2 separate regions of the Homo sapiens genome follow, and region 1 is linked to region 2. The links are contacts of gene promoters, found by promoter capture Hi-C in human tissues and cell types (Jung and others, 2019). All regions are on one chromosome and are shown on one strand. Each heading gives the region's core, a stretch centred on a gene start or on the middle of the fragment in contact. The rest is flanking DNA. Distances are from core to core; before and after follow the strand shown. Region 1 has its middle 3.0 kb from the start of SOWAHD. Region 2 holds the start of RPL39 (ribosomal protein L39).

What was found. The method cuts DNA at HindIII sites, captures the fragments that hold promoters and counts their contacts. A contact is called where the count stands out against the background at its distance.
Region 1: a contact is called between a fragment that was not itself captured here and the fragment with the promoter of RPL39 in region 2, in 1 of the 25 tissues and cell types used here (pancreas).

The regions. Positions count from the first base shown.
Region 1 is chrX:119,752,717-119,758,435 of GRCh38, forward strand. No RefSeq gene overlaps it. Among named protein-coding and RNA genes, the nearest start is that of SOWAHD, 3.0 kb to the right of the region's middle. RefSeq lists enhancers at 3,396-3,455, 3,466-3,665 and a silencer at 5,622-5,719. The HindIII fragment of the contact is 5,893 bases long and covers 1-4,814 here.
Region 2 is chrX:119,789,929-119,796,076 of GRCh38, forward strand. It overlaps RPL39 (ribosomal protein L39), which reads right to left and starts at 1,702. Exons shown (of 3, transcript NM_001000.4): 1 at 1,646-1,702; 2 at 1-83. The coding sequence starts at 1,648. It overlaps LOC107985694 (a long non-coding RNA gene), which reads left to right and starts at 1,788. Exons shown (of 3, transcript XR_001755949.2): 1 at 1,788-2,089; 2 at 3,648-3,808. RefSeq lists an enhancer at 1,437-1,696. The HindIII fragment of the contact is 28,989 bases long and covers 1-6,148 here.

The DNA.
Region 1 (5,719 bases), core at 618-3,117, 37 kb before region 2:
CCTAAGTCACCAGCCACCTAAGTGCTTAATGAACAGTAGGCAGCTGTAATCACTGTTATTACAGAGTGCTACGTTAGGTGATCTGGGGTACAGGATGCCTGGATGTCAGAAATAGATGGCTGAAGGCGCCAAGGACAACATTTACCCACTGCACAATTTTATTAAGAGCTGTTCCTGTCAGCCGTACCCAAATGTACAGTATGGCAGCATCAAACAGAGGCATGAGCACGGACCCTGCTCTACCACTTTCGAGACGCGTGACCCTGGGCAGGCCACTTAACCTCCCTCAGCCTTGTGTGTGAATTGCATATAAATACTGTCTTCTCTACATATCTCACAAGCTTGCTGTCTGGGTCAAGAGATAATTAAAAATATGAAAGCACTCTGAAAACTAAGAGTTTATTATTCCAAGCCTTACGTATGACAGAAGCCAACTGATAAAGTAAGGAAGGAACCACTTTGTACTGCTCACTGGCCTCCCCCTCTCTCCTGATGGTTCACATTCCTTTCAAGATGAGGCCAGCCCCCTCACCCCTAGGGCTAGTACCTTCTTCCCAGCAACTACTTAAGGGCCAATGACCTGCTCCAGGGTAGAAGCCTGAATTCATATAAACAAAGGGCTTATTGCTGGGCGCAGTAGCTCACGCCTGTAACCCCAGCACTTTGGGAGGCAGAGGTGGGTGGATCACTTGAGGCCAGGAGTTCAAGACCAGCCTGGCCAACACAGGGGAATGACATCTCTACTAAAAATACAAAAATTAGCTGGGTGTGGTGGTACACACCTGTAATCCCAGCTACTCGGGAGTCTGAGGCAAGAGAATCGCTTGAACCTGGGAGGCAGAGGTTGCAGTGAGCCGAGATCGTGCCACTGCATTCCAGCCTGGGTGACAGAGTGAGACTGTCTCAAAACAAAACAAAACAAAACAAAACAAAAGGGCCTGTTGCTGGGCGCGGTAGCTCATGCCTGTAATCCCAGCACTTTGGGAGGCTGAGGTGGGAGGATCGCTTGACCCTAGGAGTTCAAGACCAGCCTGGGCAACATAGCGAGACCCTGTCCTAAAAAAAAAAAAAATTAAACAAAGGGCCTGCCATGCCTCTTTCGTTGCCTACAGGTTGAAACAGACACAGCCTTTCTACTTTTCTCAGTTGCTAGTTGGTCAGAGCGCCCTCATGTGTCTCCATATGGTAATACCTTAAGTCTTTTACAGGATGTGGCATTCTTTTAATCTCAGTATCAATAAAATGTGTAATGGAAATTTTTTTCTCGTCACACTTCAAAGCCCATGCTTGACTCTCAGGCTCCAATTAAGCCATTCCAGCTTGAGTTTAGGCAGGTTTCCTGCTTCCACTCAGGCCTACAGATTTCTTCCTGCTCCCTGCCCACCCCTTTCTCCTTAGTCATTTTTAGAAGCCCTGGTGTCAACTTGGTTCTACCACTTTCTACTCTTCCAAGCTCAGTAAGCTCTCAAAATAAGATTGTAAGTTCTTTTTTTAACTGGATACATCAGGTCTTACTGCAGGATTGGCGGGGGAGGGGGGTGGGAAGGTGGGGGTAATTCCAAAGTACTAGGAAATAATTTTTAAAGTGTTTACCAAATATGACTTGTTCCATAGTCTAAGGAAAAGGGATCCAAAATGAGATCTCATGTAAAGGTCTGACATTTGGGAAGGGGAAAGTGATGTTTGGCAGAGTACATACACACAGACACATACACATTATACACACAACCAGACAGTGATGTCTGGTACACATACATACCACTCAAACATCCATTCTTGCACACACATTCACATGCAAACAGAGAGAAAGGAGCTCTCTCTCTTTCATAGGTTTCTCATTGAGAATCATGATGATATCAGCACAGGTCTTTGGAGGAAAGGAAATTTACATTCTATATCTGGAACCCCAAGAATGTTCCAGCCGTGTGTGGTGGCTCACACCACCGGGTGTGGTGGGAGGCCAAGGTGGGTGGATCACTTGGGGCCAGGAGTTCGAGACCAGCCTGGCCAACATGGTAAAACCCCGTCTCTACTAAAAATACAAAATTTAGCTGAGAATGGTGGTGCACGTCTGTAATCCCAGCTACTCAGGAGGCTGAGGCATGAGAATCACTTGAACCAGAGAGGCGGAGGTTGCAGTGAGCCGAGATCACACCACACTGCACTCCAGCCTAGGCAACAGATGGGACTCCGTCTCAAAAAAAAAGAAAGAAAGAAAAAAAAAAGAATGTTCCCCATTCCCTCCATGACCGAGGGTTATGGACGCCTGAGGGACTTTACTTCCCATATTCCACACATCTGCTTCTCAACTGTTTTGCACTCATGGATTTTTCTGAATCCATAAGCCCCCGGGGCAAACTCCATTGAGAGCCCAAGGATACACCAGCATTTGGCTTCGCCCAAGGAGCATGTTTCTGAGAAGTTTCATGTAAATTAAATTTTTGCAGATCAACTATGATTTCCTACTGACATCCCCTAAGATTTCTGAGCTGCTCTCTTCATCAAGATAGATTTTCAGTGTACGCCTAACACATCAGCTTCTCTGTTCCTCTGCCTTCTGCCATGCTCCCTGAGTTAGTTAAACCTCATCTGGAAAATAAAGGCCAATGAAACATTAAGATCTCTTCTAGTTCTTTTTTTTTTTTTTTTTTTGAGACGGAGTCTCGCTCTGTCACCCACACTACAGTGCAGTGGCGTGATCTCAGCTCACTGCAAGCTCCACCTCCCGGGTTCACGCCATTCTCCTGCCTCAGCCTCCCGAGTAGCTGGGACTACCCACCACCACGGCCGGCTAAGTTTTCGTATTTTTTAGTAGAGACGGGGTTTCACCGTGTTAGCCAGGATGGTCTCGATCTCCTGACCTCGTGATCAGCCTGCCTCGGCCTCCCAAAGTATTGGGATTACAGGCATGAGCCACCGCGCCCAGCCGATCTCTTCTAGTTCTAATAGTCCAAGATCTAGTAAATAAACCCACAAATATATTAGAGAGGCTGCTATTTGGAAAAGACATCAGTATTATTACAATTTGCAATGCAAATATCTACTCTACCTCCAGCTTTTTGGGAAGTCATTTCCCAGGGCTTGAGGGGTTTTTGCCCCACTCCCTTGGAGGGGTAGCAGATGTTTCAGATAACTGGCATGTTAATTTTAGGTGGGTGGGTACTATCCCTTCTGTTTTCCACTCCCTCTGCCCTACTCCCTGCTATCAAATTCCTGAGACCCTCTCTACTAAAATAGAGATGGGTGTTGCGGTTCTGGGGAGTGGTGTGTGCAGCTGGTGACCTAGGGTAGAAAGCACTTGCTAATTAAAGATGAAACAAGTTGCTAGGGAGGCACCGTGGCTTTGGTCTCTAGCAGCAGAGTTAAGCAAGGGCACATGTATCATGGGTCTGTGGCACTGGTCAGGCGGCTGCCTTTGCAATCTTTGAACTGGAAACAGATATTATTCATGCTGATAGGGAAGAGAGTTGCCTGCTTAGTGGTGACGAAAATTAATAGTCCAAGCATTCTTCCATCCTGCATTTTCCATGCTGGCATTTTGACTTAAAAAAAAATATTGCTGCAGCTGTTTGCATATTCTGGAAGTGTGTGTGCCTGTGTGCGGTTTGGTGTTTACAGATCTGGGGTTGCGGAGAGGAGTCTCCAGAGCAACGGAAGTAGCTGCTTGTCAGTCAGGATTCATTTTGAAAATGAAAGCCTGAAAGCTTGGGGCCCATTCTGGGCCTAGGCCTGGTCTCTGAGAAGTCAGCGAAGGCCAGGAGGTGGCTTTGGCCAGTCAACTCAGTGAATAAACCACTGAATCTCTTTTAAAGAAAAATGAATTGACCAAATCTATGAGTTGCTTTTGATGTCCTGCAGATTGGAGTCTGGAGCAGGGATGTGGGAGCAGGCATTGAGGTGCTGATTGTGGATACATGTCCCCCGCCCCCAACATACACACACACAATCACATTTTCCCAGCCTGCCAAACCAGAACAAGGTAACAAATATTTCTTGGATAACTACTAGGTGCACAAGGATAGTATGACATAGCTGTCCAAGAGTTTATAGTTTAATTGGCATATGAGAGCAAGGGGAGAGAGATGTAACACAAGGCAGTCTTGGGGCCAAAGAAGTAGCAGAAACACAGGGCTGGGGAAAGAGAGGGATCACTTTGGGCTGGGATAATCAGAGGAGGCTTGCTAGAGGTGGAAACTAAGCGCAACCTTGAAAGAAAAGAACTTCACTACATAGAAGCTCTTCCAGGCAGAGGAGTGTAAGTTATAGATACGCTCACGTTACAAGTCTATCCTTTTGGCTGGAATTTGGGGCTTGTATGTGATTTGCAGTTGATAAGCCAGGCTTGAATGCCAGTTCCTGTGTACCAGAACAAAGGCTATGGTGTCGCACAGACCTGCTCTGCCACTTCCTGCTGGGTGACCTTGAGCAAGTAGCCTAACCTCTCTGCAAACTGGGGACAGTAATGATTCCCAGCACTTGAGGTCACTGGGAGGATTAAAAGAGTTAACATATATAACGCAACAAGCACAGTGCCTGGCACATAGTAAATGTTCAAAACCAAATTACAAATGCATAAACTGTTCTGAAGGAAAGCTCTAGATATTTAGGACTTGTTCCAAATACGTGAGGGCCAAGGAAGAAAAGCTTCCGATACCTTCTATCACTGCTGCCACAGGTGGCCCCGAGGGAGTGGGCTGATTTGGCCTGAGCCTCCATCCCCCTTGGCCTAGACTGCTGGAACAGTCTTCCGACTTCCTGCCTCTGCACCTCCCAAATCACCTTTTTAACACAACCTCCATCATGGCTGTGTCTCTCCCCGGCTCAACAATCTTCTATGGCTCCCCGTTGCTCACTGACTGAGCTCCTTAAGATGCTGGGGGTGTGGAGGCAAGAACCACTATTTACTAAGGGAAGGGAAGAGCAAAGAGTACGCTGGTATTAGGAGTGAAAAAGAAAAAATATCCTTTTTTAAAAAGCCCCTAAGCTTTGAATTTGTAGAAAGCGGGGCCCTGGGGAGAGAGCAGGGATGCATCTCTAAAGAGAACAGGGCGCTCCTGCGGCGCCGGCTCAGATTCACCTGTAGCTGCTTCTCCAAGCCAACCTGGGAAAATTGACGGGAGGGAAGAGGGTGGAGAGCAGGACAGAGAGGGCGGTGCAGAAGGGGAATATCCCTCCTGAGTTCCCTGGAAGAGCGTCAGCCTGGACCCTGGTCTTGGGCTTCTCTGCTGGAATCCTGGGCAGCCCCGGGTGCTGCGGCGAGGGTCAAGGCCACACAAAGGGCAAGGCAGGCAGACGAGCCAGTCACATGGGGCAGTCGAGCTGCCTGCGTGAATGCTAGGCGCGGGACAATGGCAACTCCGGGACAAAGTGCAGGGAGACTCCTGAAGAGATAAGAGGGAAGGGCGAAGGAAGGGGGCGGGGAGCCAGAGCCTCGGAGCTCCAGGACCGCGCTTTGGGAGACCGTGGCTGGAAGCCGAGCTCGGCCCGCTGCGGAAGGGGCGCCCTCGCGCCTCTACACTCTAGCCCCGGCTGGGATGCTGAGAACCGCGGCTTCCAGGGCCGCAGGCGAGCTCCCAGCCAGTCCCCGCGCCCGCCCTTCGGTGCTGGAGGCGGGGCTGCCGAGCTCACCTGGCCGTTTGGGGTGGGACCGCCCGCGACCCGGGGGAGCTGCAGAGGCGGCGGTACCCAGGGAAGTGGAGCTGGGCTTGCCCTGGGGACT
Region 2 (6,148 bases), core at 452-2,951:
ATCCGAATCCACTGGGGAATGGGACGATTTTGCTTTTGTTTCTTGGCCAGGAATCGCTTAATCCTGAAAGTCTTGTGAGAAGACTGGGAAGAAAATGCAATCAATTTAGACAATATTAGAGCCTGCCCGAATGATTCAAAGTCAAGAACTCCTTCAAACCAACATTTGAGTGCTTAACACATACCCCAGCCCCAAAATCTTCTCAATGCTAAGCCATCAAGCCAAGCAAGTCTCTGACCCTCACAACTTCTCTGGGGGCAGATACCACAGTTTCCATCGTTCAGATAAAATAAGTGGAATCCGGTTAAGAAACATGCACAAAATCAGAGCATCAATGTGCAGAACCAGGATTCAAACCCAGGTCCTTTCTGCTCCACAGCCAGAGGCTACCTTTCAATTTACCCTGTGGTCCCCCAAGGACTCAGACGACCACACTGGGAATGGCTAGGGAATCTGGCTTCCTGGGAAGAACACAGCTTTGAGTCAAACAGAACCACCTACCTACCATTTGCAAGTCAACGAATCTCAGTGCTCTACTTTGTAAAACAGGGGTACGTACTTTTCAAGTGTTATTGGGAGGGTAATTAAGACTTAGGGAAAGTCCCTGACATTCAGAAGATCTAACCTACTCACCATTTCGGTATTAATCCTAACTCTATCTCTACTGCTAAATTTCACTGGCTAAAAAAATAAACTTTTAAATTTAAAAATAAATGAAATGTCACTTTTCCAAGGATGACTGTCTCAATTTCTAGTTGCATCTTTTGGCTTTCATCTAAGGCCAACCCCAATACTCCCCCAAATCTACAGAATAATCTTGCAAAATTGGCACGGATGCAGGTTTAATGCCTGGCCAACCTGGACGAACATACCCTTGCATAATAATGGGAGCCAATACAAAGAAGGCAAAGATTACACCCCGTCCCCCATCCACAGTAGCAGTTGTAAATTTTGTCAAGTAATAAATTACTTGACAAGTAATAAAATACCAGTACTTATCGCCTCCATATCTAGAAATCAACATTTTACATTTCCCAGTAAAGAGTGACTGGTTCGCTGCTGCCATTTACTAAGAAGGCCAGAATGACACACAGGTTCGCAAAACACCCCTTGTTCTAGGCGCTTCCACGGGGTGACGCTCAAGTCTCTGAATAAACGTCCTCTAAACAAAAGTCCTGGGATCTAAAAATGCGGTTCGCTTCTCCACGCCAAGCTAAACCCTTTTCGAAAACCAGTAGCCCACAATACCCTCCTGATTACCCTCCACGTTGCGCATGCCACGGGCAGCCCACAGTCAGGCCACGATTTCGGGGGTGGCTGCCACCTCCCACCCCCCGCCTCCAGAACGAGTTCGCTACAAGCGAAGGGAAACCGGAATCCCTGCCCGACTCGGCAGCGGCCGGGCAAAGAAAGAGCCCCCTTGAATCCGCGGCCGCAGCGCAGCCCGTCCCTCTCCAGGTTGCTCGCTGGCTCACTAGCTTCCCTCCAGGCCACGAAAGACAACAGTGGCCGAACTGGATATTTTCTTGAAAAAGCCTTTAAAAGGCTCCCGCCCCTCAACGCTCCGCGCGGCCCAGGCATTTCCTGGCAGCGGCCTCGGGTTTTGGGAAGCCACCCCGGGGCCGATGGGGGCCGATGGACTTACCATGGCGAGCAGCGGAGTCAAGAACACACCACGATGGCGGAGAAAGGAAGAGGAGGGAAGCTGGCGGAAGAACGAGCTTAGAAGGCGCTTCCGATGGGCGGAGTTTAGGAGGTGACGCTATGCACCGACCGCCTCTTCTAGTGCCTTCTCTGTCTAGCGGTGCGCTCCCGTGGCGCCGTGGGAAAGCGCGCTGGTTTCTGCCAAATGCAGTTAGCTTTGCTTCGCTTCCCTAAGTGCGTTCCCCCAGGGGCCCGGCAGTGTGCTAGGGGCACCCTGCTTCGTAAGTGAGGCAGACAGCCCGTGATAAATGCCAAAGTAGAAGCCCCTCCGAAAAATTAAGGAGCCGATTGGGCGGGACTAACCCTAAGGGAGGGCAGGGGAAGCGACCGTCACCTCCGGGCGCCGGGGACTCGGAACGCCGGGTCGGAGCTCGGCAGGCGGAGAGTAAGTGCCATTTTCCCAGAGGGTTACGAGTCATTTCGGCCTGGCTGGGAGGTGTGGGAAGGGACAGTCGTGTCGGAGGAAGCCGGAGAAGTTGGAGGGGGTTGGACCACGTGGACGCTTATGTAAGCCTAGGGGTTTTCGACTAGGCGGAAGGTTGCCAATCAAAGTTTTCAACTCAGAAAGTTAGGGACAGAACCTCTTCCTTGGCTGCTAGAAGTCCAGCCTGACATTGTAGCCCGCCTTTGGCAAGATGTACAATAATTAATAACATGCGTTTGGGATGCTAGTGTTCCCCATTTTCATCCTTTTCCCCATTTAAAAGCAAAAACCTTTCCTTTTTGATGAGTAAATAAAATAAACATAAAAATAAGCTGGGCGTGGTGGCTCACGCTTGTAATCCCAGCACTTTGGGAGGCCTAGGCGGGCGGATTACTTGAAACGAGGAGTTCGAGACCAGCCTGGCCAACATGGTGAAACCCCGTCCCTACTAAAAATACAAAAAAACTAACCAGGCGTGGTGGCGGGCGCCTGTAATCTCAGCTACTGCGGGGGCTGAGACAAGAGAATCTCTTGAACCCTGAAGGCGGAGGTTGCAGCGAGCCGAGATTGCGCCACTGCACTCCAGCCTGGGCAACAAGAGCAAAACTCCATCTCAAAAAAGAAAAAGTAAATAAATAAACGCAAAAACCTCCATGTATATTTGCAGTCACCTCAAGCATTTTTACACCAACGGATTACAGCAAGGGTTTTTAACCTGGAGTCCACAAGAGTCCATGTATAGAATTCAGAGGATCCCATGAACTTGAATGGGAAAATACAACTTTATTTTCACCAAATTTAATGAAATGTAATGCTTTCTTTATTTAGGAATGTAGGCAACAGACCACAGTGGCATTAGCAGTACTCGTGACTTGGTCACTAATAGAAACCATAGATGGCTTCATGTTACATTACAGTTGATGCAGATGTCTCCATATATTATTTACACACTCCCTTTAAATTACATTAGTTATAAGTTCACAAATAGAACTATGTTAAGAAGCCCATGTATTACTATAGCACATATTTCCTTTTTTTTTTTTTCAAGACTGAGTCTCCCTTTATTGCCCAGGCTAGAGTGCAATGGCACAATCTTGGCTCACTGCAACCTCCGCCTCCCGGGTTCAAGTGATTCTCATGCCTCAGCCTCCCGAGTAGCTGGGACTACAGGCACGCACTACCACACCCAGCTAATTTTTGTATTTTTAGTAGAGACGGAGTTTCGCCATGTTGGCTAAGCCGGTCTCGAACTCCTGACCTCAAGTAATCCGCCCGCCTCGGCCTCCCAAAGTGCTGGGATTACTGGAGTGCGCTACCGTGCCCGGCCTAAAGTCACATTCTGAGGTCCTGGGGATTAGGGCTTCAACACATGAATTTTGGGGGAACATAATTTAGCTCATGACACCACCAGTCACCTTCTAAGGCCGAATTCAAATGCTGTCTCTTCCCCTTAGCTGGAAATCATCACCCCTTCAACACTGTTGTAATAGTTTATTTGTACCTTTCTTATGGCTCCTAGCACTATCTGTTCTGTTGCAATGCAAAAGGATGAAAGTAACAGTGGCTGCTGCTTATGGGGCTTGATAGTTACTATGTAGCTGCATGTATTAATTCAAGCCTCACTGTGAGCTTACCATGTTTTACCAGTGACCTTTTGAATCTTCACCAGAACACTACAAGGTAAGTATGGTTAATCATCCTCATTTTACAGAAGAGGGAACTGCAACAGGGACAGATTAAGTTGTATACCCAAGGTCACACAGCTACTATGTTGCACAGCCGGTACTCAGACTCAGGTAGTCCAGGCTTCAGAGTCTGTGCTGTCACCACTACCCTCTACTGCCTTTTCAACACAGATTTTGGGAACCTACTCTGTCTGGTTCGGGTCTTCGTGTTGGGGGTACAGAAGCAAACAAATCTGACCAAAAATCCCTGCCCTCTTGGAGTCTTGTGGCGATGGTATGGTTCTGGATTTTTTTGTGGTGGGAATTACACAAAGCTACACGTGTGATAGAATTTGCCAAGTGTGGTGACTCACGTCTGTAATCCCAGCACTTTGGGAGGCTGAGGCGGGCGGATCACCTGAGGTCAGGAGTTCGAGATCAACCTGACCAACATGGTGAAACCCCGTCCCTACTAAAAATACAAAAATTAGCCAAGTGTGGTGGCGCGCGCCTGTAATCCCAGCTACTCAGGAGGCTGAGGCAGGAGAATGGCTTGAACCCGGGAGGTGGAGGCTGCAGTGAGCCGAGATCGCGCCACTGCACTCCAGCCTGGGTGACAGAGCGAGACTCTGTCTCAAAACAAACAAAAAAAATTAGCCGGGCATGCTGGTGCGTGCCTGTAGTCCAAGCTACTCAGGAGGCTGAGACAGAGAGAATTGCTTGAACCCAGGAGGTGGAGGGTGCAGTGAGCCGAGATCACAACACTGCACCCCAGCCTGGGTGACAGAGTGAGACTCTGTCTCAAAAAACAAAAACAAAAAAACAAAAAAAACAATTCTATACAACTCCCCCCTGCCCACCCCTGCCCCAAGGGGCATATGTATAACTGGTGAAATCTGAATAAGCTCTGTGGACTGTGCCAACGTGAATTTCCTGGTTGTGATATTGTACTATAGTTATGCAAGATGCTAACACTGGGGAAAACTAGATAAAGGGTACACAGGGCCTCTCAGTCCCTTTCTTTGCAACTTCTTGCGAATCTATTGTTATTTCAAAATACAAGTCTAAAAAAACTCTGCCTTCATTGAGTTTAATTATAGTGGGGAGTTAGACAACAAATATGTAAATTACATGGCACATCAGAAGGAGGTGTCATCAAGAAAAGCAAAGCAGGGGCCAGGTGCAGTGGCTAACACCTGTAATCCCAGCATTTTGGAAGGCTGGGGAAGGAGGAATAGTTGAGACCAGGAGTTTTAGATCAGCCTGGACAACATAGTGAGACTCTCTACAAAAAATACAAAATTTAGCCACTGGATGTGGTGGCACGTGCCCGTAGCTCCAGCTACTTGGAAGGCGAGAAGGGAGGAGCGCTTGAGCCCAGGAGTTCGAGGCTGCAGTGAGCCATGATTGTGCCACTGCACTCCAGCCTGAGCAACAGAGTGAGACCCTGTCTCAAAACAAACAAAAAATTGAGGGCTGGGCGCGGTGGCTCACGCCTATAATCCCAGCACTTTGGGAGGCCGAGGCGGGTGGATCACGAGGTCAGGAGTTCGAGACCAGCCTGACCAACATGGTGAAATCTCGTCTCTACTAAAAATACAAAAAATTAGCCGGGTGTGGTGGTGGCGCCTGTAATCCCAGCTACTCGGGAGGCTGAGGCAGGAGAATCGCTTGAACCCGGGAGGTGGAGGTTGCAGTGAGTGGAGATCATGCCACTGTACTTCAGCCTGGTGACAGAGGGAGACTCCGTCTCAAAAAAAAAAAAAAAAAAATTGAGAAAGGGTGGCATGAAAGGTAGAAGGAAAACCAGCAAGAAGTGCTCTTTCTAAAAGCAGTAAGAATTAAAAGGATAATTGACATAAGCACTTAAAAGCTTATTTGCTGCTGCTTCTGGTCACCAGAAAGAAAATGCTTGCTCTTAAATAAATGAGCAATAAAAATCCAAAAAATCCAAGTTAAAAAATGTATATTTGGAAAAATGGCCGGGCGTGGTGGCTCCCACCTGTAATCCCAGCACTTTGGGAGGCTGAGGCGGGTGGATCAACTTAGATCAGGAGTTCGAGACCAGCCTGGCCAACATGGCAGAACCCTGTCTCTACTAAAAATACAAAAATTAGCCGGGAATGGTGGCACACCTGCAATCACAGCTATTCAGGAGGCTGAGGCAGGAGAATTGCTTGAACCTAGGAGGTGGAAGTTTCAGTGAGCCGAGATCGCACCATTGCACTTCAGCCTGGGCAACAGAGTGAGACCCTGTCTCAAAAAAAAAAAAAAAGTTGGAAAAAAATAATGCAGCAATAAAAAATAATACAAATATAGACAGGTGTGGCAGCATGCACCTGTAGTCCTAGCTACT